3 separate regions of the Homo sapiens genome follow, and all the other regions are linked to region 1. The links are contacts of gene promoters, found by promoter capture Hi-C in human tissues and cell types (Jung and others, 2019). All regions are on one chromosome and are shown on one strand. The core of a region is centred on a gene start or on the middle of the fragment in contact, and the rest is flanking DNA. Distances in the headings are between cores, read along the strand shown.

What was found. The method cuts DNA at HindIII sites, captures the fragments that hold promoters and counts their contacts. A contact is called where the count stands out against the background at its distance.
Region 2: a contact is called between a fragment that was not itself captured here and the fragment with the promoter of ZNF852 in region 1, in 1 of the 25 tissues and cell types used here (mesenchymal stem cells).
Region 3: a fragment that was not itself captured here is called in contact with the fragment with the promoter of ZNF852 in region 1 in 1 of the 25 tissues and cell types used here (liver).

Annotation. Positions count from the first base shown.
Region 1 is chr3:44,509,057-44,512,134 of GRCh38, reverse strand. It overlaps ZNF852 (zinc finger protein 852), which reads left to right and starts at 1,518. Exons shown (of 4, transcript NM_001423469.1): 1 at 1,518-1,582. RefSeq lists enhancers at 1,064-1,123, 582-1,358, 1,359-2,135 and silencers at 1,344-1,393, 1,524-1,583, 1,594-1,753. The HindIII fragment of the contact is 21,843 bases long and covers 1-3,078 here.
Region 2 is chr3:44,299,881-44,302,958 of GRCh38, reverse strand. The region is part of intron 12 of TOPAZ1 (testis and ovary specific TOPAZ 1); the gene reads right to left. Among named protein-coding and RNA genes, the nearest start is that of TCAIM, 37 kb to the left of the region's middle. The HindIII fragment of the contact is 3,841 bases long and covers 1-3,078 here.
Region 3 is chr3:44,358,481-44,361,558 of GRCh38, reverse strand. TCAIM (T cell activation inhibitor, mitochondrial) reads right to left here. Exons shown (of 11, transcript NM_173826.4): 4 at 41-194. Among named protein-coding and RNA genes, the nearest start is that of TCAIM, 21 kb to the right of the region's middle. The HindIII fragment of the contact is 4,576 bases long and covers 1-3,078 here.

The DNA.
Region 1 (3,078 bases), core at 269-2,768:
TCGCTCTGTCGCCCAAGCTGGAGTACACTGCCCCAATCATAGCTCACTGCAGCCTCGACCTCCCCGGCCCAAGCGATCCTTCCGCCTCTGCCTCCACAGTAGCTAGGACTACAGGCGTGCACCACCAAGCTCAGCTAATGCTCTTTCTGGTCTGAGTTTTGACCCTCATCCTAACCTGTTGTTCTTTGAGTACACTCTGGGCCTTGATGCGTTGGGTCATTCCTGCTTTCCCAGGTGGTAACCGTTCCTGGGCAGGGATTTTAGTTTTCCTTGGAATCTTGCCCTCCTCACTATCCTGCCCACAACCTTCTACCCCTAGCTTCTGGGATCTCAGCTAGGAGCCATGCTATCCCCAACTCTCCCTCTACAGGGACGTGGGACGGGAGAGCTTTTATGAAGCACAGTAGTGAAAAGACCAAAAGATTTGGATTCAGTGGCTATTCCAGTTACTGACTCTATTTCCTTGGGCAACTCAAATCAATGCATGGCAGCCAGTGTGTTATGAGCTACCGGAAGTATACAGAAAAGTACCAGAAAAAATACAAGCATTATCATCAGTCGCTGTCAATTAAATAACTCTGTTACATTTCAACAGTGTTCGTAACCACTTGACATTGATGTATTTGTGTAATTTCTATTATCTGTTTTTCCCACAAAGCTGTAGCTCCATCCAAAGTGGGCAACTGAGTGTCTTGGTCAGTCATGTGCAGCCTGATGACCCTTGAACAGTTGCAAAAGTGCGCCTAGGGCTTGTAGCATTTACTTAAAAGGGGATAATAAACTCTCACGGCCAGTGCTGGGCTTATTGCCTTGTTTGGGAATTTCTCCATTCAAGGGTTTTATGTTTGGGGATGTGCTGGCCCTATTTTTTTGTTTGTTTGTTTTTTGAGACGGAGTCTGGCTCTGTCTCCCAGGCTGGAGTGCAGTGGCACGATCTCGGCTCACTGCAACCTCCGCCTCCCAGGTTCAAACGATTCTCCTGCCTCAGCCGCCGAAGTAGCTGCGATTACAGGCGCCGCGCCACCACACCCAGCTACTTTTTTTTTATTTTTAGTAGACACGGGGTTTCACCGTGTTAGCCACCGATCTCCTGACCTCGTGATCCGCCCACCTCGGCTTCCCAAAGTTCTGGGATTACAGGCGTGAGCCACCGCGCCAGGCCGCTGGCTCTATTTTCACCGCTAGCTTTGGATCCCTTTCTTCCCTGAAGGAAAAGAGGCCTCCAGGGCAGCCGTGCAGAACCGATGGGAGGGATGTAGGATAATACGCCAAAGCCGATAGAGTTCTGGAGCGCGCCTGGGCATCAGAGCGTGGAAGACAAGTGTCCGCGGAAGGAGGCGAAGGATGCTGGACAAGCCCCGCCGCCCGCCGCCCGCCGCCCGCCGCCCGCCGCCCGCCGCCCGCCGCCAGCGGCCCTGGGCCCAGGGAGAAGCAGAGATGTTGGCCCTCCCAGTTTCCTAGAGAGGCCGCAGAGGGCCCGGGGAGGCGACGCGCGTGCGCAACTGGGGAAGCTGGGAGGTAGGCGCGGGGCGGTCGGCTGCGGTGGCGGCGTTTGGATGATTGTCTCTCGGCGGCGGAGTCGGTGAGCGGCCCGGCGGGGCGCGGGGTGCGGAGCGGGGGCGGCTGTGCGTGCGAGAGTGGCAGGTGAGGCCGGGCCTGGAGGCTGCACCCGGGGCGGGGGTCTGGCCGTGGATCCCGCCCGGCCGCGCCGAGGGCATACCTCTTCGCCCCCCGGGCGTCTGGGGCAGAGAATCTGGAAAATTCCCGGTTTCTTCTGGCTTTATCTTTTCACCCAATTATGCGAATAAAGCGTACTTATTAGAGACAATTAGATAAGTGGAAGAAAAGTGAAAGTAGCCACCGTCCGGAAATCTTAGTCTCCAGGTCTCCTGACATTGAAAACATCTGGCATAGACTTCTCCCTTTTTCTTGTCTTATTTCACTTCCTGGCACCTGTCGCCGTCTAACATAGCATGTATTTGTTTATTGGTTATCTTCCCATAAGCCCCTTGCCAGGGCAGTGCTTTCTGTTTGCTTTATTAACTGCTGTTACCTTAGTGTATGGGAAATAGTAGGTGCTCCTAGAAGGTGTTTGTTAAATTAATGAAAGAAGGAATATCTAAACTGGGAGACAAGAAGAATTGACAGTTTTTAATGTCTTTTTTTTTTTTTTAAATAGCCCATTGCCAAGTTAAGAATGTAAGAGTGACCTTGAGCCTGGAACATTTCCTTGCAGAGTTAGAGCCCTCACAGCCTGTGCTGCTGCATTTAATGCCTTGTGTCTTTCAGTGTTTCAGGCTTCATGTGTACTCCTTTGTTGTGTTTAATCTCTTAAGTCAGTGGCCTTCATTCATTCTCTCAGCCTTCTGTATTTCACACCCCATAGGAGTGGGGAGGGTGGATTGAGATCTTTCTTCCTTACTAAGTGGGGTGTGTGCATCACACCAGCCCTATAGCTGTGGAGTGGATCTGCTGGGTGTGGGGGCTCTTTGCATTGCAGGAGGCTGGATCTTGTTCCCTGTTTCTCCTTTTGCTGTAAGTATACGCTGTACCTCTTGGGGCCTGATGTGGTTGGTATCTGTCCTCAGCGACCTCAAATCATGTGCTATCCCTTCCTTGGATGGCCTTTTAATCTTGGCAGCACAGCCTGGCCACCTGGTGAATAGTGGAACAGTCATGGTGATGCATAAGGATCTAGTATGTTCCTTTTAGGTGCTGTATGGTATTTCATCCTATAAAAATGCTACTTTTATTTAGCCATATTGATGGACAAGTAGGTTAAATCCAGTATTATGTTATTACAGAGAATATTTTAGTAAATACCTGTGTAAATGTCTGAATACCCGTGCAAGTGTTTTTCAGGGCAGATTCTTACAAGTTAAATTCCTGTAGCGTAAGGAATATGTCTTTTTAGTTTTACTGTGGACTTTCAAACTATCCTTCCTGTTGGCTATTACATTTCCACATCTATTAGTGGTTTGTGTTTGGTGTTTTTTTCTTTTGCTTTTCTTTTGGACAGAGATTTTTTTCATATTGATGTATTCAAATATATTCACTCTTTTCATTTTGTTGTCTTAA
Region 2 (3,078 bases), core at 161-2,660, 210 kb after region 1:
AGGTGGGAGGATCACCTGAGCCCAGGAGGTCCAGGCTGCAGTGAGCTGTAATTGCACTACTGCACCCCAGCCCGGGAAACAGAGCAAGATCCTGTCTCAATCCATCAACACACAAACAAAAAACAATAGCTTTTATAAATACAAAAAAACCACATAATAATACAGAAAACCTCATTCACAATAGCACCCAAAATATTAAGTACTTATACAAAGAAAATTATAAAACACTCCTGAAAGACACATTACTACTACACGGAGTTAGGAAGTTGATACTAAATATATGGAGAAGCGTACATCCAAGAAGATCCAGGAAAACACTGAAAAACTATGAAAAAGAATTATCCCTACCAAAAATTAAAACATACTATTAAAGCTTCTACAGTTACTATAGTGTGGTTCCAGTGCAGGAATAGGCAAACAGTCCAGTGGAATAAAATACAAAGTCAAGAAACAGACCCCATTGTATATGAAATTTAGTATACGATGAAGGTGGCATCTCAAATCACTGGAGGTAAAGATGGACATTTTATTTTACCATTATTATTTTCTGAGATGGAGTCTTGCTCTGTCACCCAGGCTGGAGTGCAGTGGTGCTATCTCGGCTCACTGCAAGCTCCGCCTTCTGGGTTCACGCCATTCTCCTACCTCAGCCTCCCGAGAAGCTGGGACTACAGGTGCCCGCCACCACACCCGGCTAGTTTTTTGTATTTTTAGTAGAGACGGGGCTTCACCATGTTAGCCAGAATGGTCTCTATCTCCTGACCTCGTGATCTGCCCACCTCGGCCTCCCAAAGTGCTGGGATTACAGGTGTGAGCCACCACGCCCAGCCAAGATGGATATTTTAATACATGTTGTTGGAAAAGTTGTATAATCATTTGGAAAAGATAAAACTGAATCCATTTCACATAACATACCTAAGAGAAAAAACTCCACGTAGATTAAAAACCTAACTGTAAAAATGAAGTCATACAAATAGTAAAAGAAAACGTGCCAGTTTGCCTAAAACCTTCATGTAGAGAAATGATGACTCAAAACCACATGCAATAAAACATAACCTTGACTCAAAACTGAGAAAAAAGATTGAAATATAAGGTTGCATAAAAATAAAACTTTTTGCATGGTAAAAAACACCAGAAGGTCAAAAGACAACTGACAAACTGGAAGAAAAATTGCAATATATACTAATATATACTACAAAGGCCTAATACCTGTAATATATCAAGAACTCTAAAAGTTTAAGAACCAAAAAACCAAAACCTAATAGAAAAAGGGGAAAAAGAGTGAAGAGTTCACATAAAACATGTAAAAATAGCCCTCAAATATACGAACAGAAAATGCTCAAATTCATTCATGAGAGAAATGCAAACTAAAACACCATTTGTCATCTAATAGATTGGCAAACATTGAAAAACATTCTAACACATTATGTTAGAAAGCTAGGCTGAAATAGGCAGTCTCATATTTCTGATGGGAACACAAATGGGTACAAGTATTCTGGAGGAAAATTTGGCAATACCTAACAAAAGTTATATATACTTATCTTTAAAAGTTATAAGTTATATACTTATCTTCACAATTTTTTGACTTTTAAATAAGCTCACAGGAATTTCCAAAAATAGTACACTGTGCACTCTTCACCCAGCTTTTTCCAATAGTGACATCTTATATACCACCAGGAAACTGACACTGGTACAATATTGTTAACTACAGGCCTTATTCAGTTTTTATCAATTTTTACATGTATTTGTGTGTGTGTATGTAACTGCAACTGTTCCATTTCTACAAAGGAACTTTCTCATGATACCCTTTTATACTCATCCCCTCTCCACTGTCCCTGTCCCCTGGCAACCACTAATCAGTTCTCCATTTCTTAGTTTTGTTATCTCGGGAATATTACATAAATGAAATGTATGCACTGTGTAGCATGTAGCCTTTTGAGATTAGCTTTTAAAATTCAACACAATTCCCTTGAGATCAATCCAATTTGTTGCACATTTCATAGTTTCTCCCTCTTTTTCCTGAATAGTATGCCATGGTATGTACCACAGTTTAACTATAACTACTCATTCACCTATTGAAGGGTATCTGAGTTTTTTTTTTTTTTTCCAGTTTCTGGTTATTACAATTAAAGCTGCTAAGAACATTTACGTGTAAGTTTTTATGTGACCAAAAGTTTTCATTTCTCTAGGATAAATGCCCAGGAGTTCAACAGCTGCCTTTGGGATGTGCATGTTTAGTTTGTAGAGAAACTGTCAAACTGCTTTTCAGAGTGGCTGTACCATTTTATATTCTCACTAACAGCATATGATCCAGTTTATCCACACTCTCCCCAGCATTTGGTGTTAACAATATTTAAAAAAAAATTCTGTTATTCTGATAGGTGTGTGGTGATATCTCATATAGTTTTATTTTACATTTCTCTTATGGCTAACAATGTTGAACTTATTTTCATGTGCTTAGTTGCCATCTGCATATCCTCATTGGTGAAACATGTTTATGTCTTTAGCCCATTTTCTTTTCTTTCTTTTTTTTTAAGACGTCTCACTCTGTCGCCCAAGCTGGAGTGCAGTGGCACGATCTCAGTTCACTACAACCTGGGTTCAAGTGATTCTCTTGGAGCCTCAGCCTCCTGAGTAGCTGGGACTACAGGCATGTACCACCATGCCTGGGTAATTTTTGTTATTTTTAGTAGAGATGGGGTTTTACCATGTTGGCCAGGCTGGTCTCAAACTCCTGACCTCAAGTGATCTGCCCACCTCGGCCTCCCAAAGTGCTGGGATTACAGATGTAAGCCATGGCACCCAGCTCTCATTTTCTTTTTTTTTATTTTTTATTTATTTATTTATTTTATTATTATTATACTTTAAGTTTTAGGGTACATGTGCACAATGTGCAGGTTAGTTACATATGTATACATGTGCCATGCTGGTGTGCTGCACCCATTAACTCATCATTTAGCATTAGGTATATCTCCTAAAGCTATTGCTTCCCCCTCCCCCCACCCCACAACAGTCCCCAGAGTGTGATGTTCCTCTTCCTGTGTCCATGTGTTCTCATTGTTCAATTCCCACCTATGA
Region 3 (3,078 bases), core at 233-2,732, 150 kb after region 1:
ATTAAGCTTGCAAGGGACACACCAGAAATAAAAAACGTACCGGAAGTACTAAAAGGTTCCTGGCCATCGGAGGAACTCTGGTCTGTTTCTCTTACATAAAATGTAAGCTGAGTTGGTTTCAAAGACTTGAAGCCTGGTTTCTGGAGGTTTTCTAGGTAGACACTTAACCTTTTAAGAGAATTTTCATTGATTTCCTGGAAAAAAACATTAAGGGCATTTACATACAAAATAGAACAAGGAAATATCAGAAATGATATCTATCTAACCTTTTAAACACATTGAGAGTATTAAATAATTTAGTATTTAAAAATGTTGGGATTTCATAGCTCTTTGGTAAAAGATAAAATTGGATCTACATCTCACAACATGTAACAGAATGAACTCCATATGGGTAAGATGTAAAAAGATGTAACCATATAAGTAATAGAAGAAAACATGGTTGAATTCCTTTATAACCTAAATGTAGAAAATGCCAATGACTAAATATCCCAAAGTAATAAATGATTGTTTGTTTAATTTATTCTAATATGATGTTCTTAGCCATATGAGTCCTGCAGGCAAGTGTGGGATAATTATTGCCAGTGTAAGACTAAATCTTCATCATTATTTTTTGATAAATATTTCTATTTTTGCTGAAAAGCAACACAAGAAGGCTGGACGTGGTGGCTCATGTCTATAATCCCAGCAGTTTTTGGGAGGCTGAGGTAGGCAGATTGCCTGAACTCAGGAGTTTGAGAACAGCCCGGGCAGCATGGTGAAACCTCGACTCTACAAAAAATACAAAAATTAGTTGGGCACGGTGGTACATGCTTGTGGTCCCAGCTACTCAGGAGGCTGAGGTAGGAGGATCACTTAAGCCCAGGAGTTCGAGGCTGCAGTGAGCCCCTTGATGGTGCCACCACACTCCCCGCCTGGGTGACAGAGCAAGACTCTGTCTCCAAAAAAATTAAAAAAAAAAAAAGATTATATATAGGAAGTGAATAGGAACTGGGTAAACGAAACAGGAATATAGGAATGAGACTTCTCATTAAACTTTGTATTTAGTTTTGATTTTTTTTTTAAACCCACAATGTTTTGCAGATTTTTAAATTAAATTAAAGAGGATTTTTTAAAAAACCCAAAAATCCTGTGCATCACTGGGAAACCCTGGACTTTGAGTTCGATGCTATGAATAGATGGGACTTTAAGCCACTCTTCCTAAGAAAAGGGGCAAGGGTGTTCTCTAATAGTAGGAAGAAGACTGAACTGAACATGTGGTGGCAAGAAGAGTGACAAGAAGAGTGAACAGTCTTCATGGAGCTTGCATTTTAGTGAGGGGAGAAAAATAAACAACAAACCTCACAAATAAGGAAATAGGGTACATGGAAAGGAAAAAAAAACAAGTACTGCAGGGTAAAGAGGGGACGGAATGCTAGGAAGGAAAGCAGAGATGGCAATTTAAAATAGGGTAGTTTTAAAAACAAAACAAAACAAAACAAACACAAGTAATAGTGTAGTCTGGGAGAGCCTCACTGAAAGGTGAGAAAGTAAAGGACAAGCCATATCTGGGATATCTGGGAAAAGGATGCTCTAAACAGAGGCAGCAGCTAGGGCAAGGGCTTGACACAAAGGAGGAGTCAATAAATACAAGTTAAAGATAACACGAAAATGTAAACTTATCAGAACCATTAAACTCTAGGCACATTGTGTCAGGGGTCCCCAAGACCACTCTCAGGTTCAACGATTTACTAGAAGGATTCACAGAACTCAGACAAGCTGTTTTATTCACCATTATGGTTTATTACAACAAAAGAATGGAGATTAAAATCAGCAAAGGGAAAAGGTGAATAGAGCAGAATCAGGAGAGACCACGTGCAAGTTTCCAGTTGTCATTTCACAGTGGAGTTTTACAGACAGTGCTTAATCCCCCCAGCAATGGTGTGTGACAATACGTAAAAGTGTTGCCACCCAAGGAAGCTCATCCAAGTCTGGATGTCCAGAGTTTTACTGGGGGTCAGTCAGGTAAGCATTTAGTGCTTATGTGACTCACTTCAGCTACTCAGTCTCAGCTCCCCAAATACCCAAGGTCAAATTAATACAGTGCAGCCCAGGGTCTTAGACACAGGAAAACAGGTATTCACTATAAATCACATTGTTAGCATAAACTATCTGGCATGGTCAAAGGCCTCAGGCAAACAGAAACATTCCTATCCAGGGGCTCAGAGCTCATTTCCCAGTAGCCAGTCAAAGGTCAGCACTGGGGTCAGACCTTTCTTTGGAATGTGCAAGGTTTAAGCAACCCAAGCTTGCTGAGTTAACCCTTTACCACACGTAGAAGTTTTTGTTGTTTGTTTTTTAAATTTAGGAGATGAGGACTCACTATGTTGCCCAGGCTTGAATTCCTGGGCTCAAGTAATCCTCCTGCCTCAGCCTCCCTAGTAGCTGGGACTACAGGTGTGCCACCATGCCCTGCTGCATACAGAAGTCTTAATTAAAAAAAATACATTGGTAGAATAATATTAAAGTATTACTAAGCTTGATTTTTCTATACATTTTGAATTTAAAAACTTTATTAATGCATCCCCGAGTTAATGAATATTTTTCTGTTGATTCAATTTACTGATTACTTTGAAAAGTTCTGACTTTGAGTAGCCAACATATCACATATCATAATCAGAATATTTTCCTAGAAGCAAAAAAGCAAAATAGATTTTCCATTGCAAGTAGAAAAAAATAACGATGTTCTAATTTTCAAGATTTCAAGTTCCTTTTCATATTAAACTAGATATCAGTGTTAATGAAAATAGAAGGAACACTGAAGTAATTCCAAAGCATGTGGCTTTGTAATACATAGCAGTCCCTTGGTATCCATAGGGGATTGGTTCCAGGACCTCCCGTGGATACCGAAATCTGCGAATGCTCAAGTCTCTCATATAAAATAGTGTAGTATTTGCAAATAACCTATGTGTATCCTCCCATATACTTTAAGTCATTTCTAGATTACTTATAATATCTAATATAATGTAAGTGCTATGTAAGTAGTTGTTATCCTGTGTTGTTCAGGGAATAATGACAAGAAAGAGAAGTTTGTTCATGTGT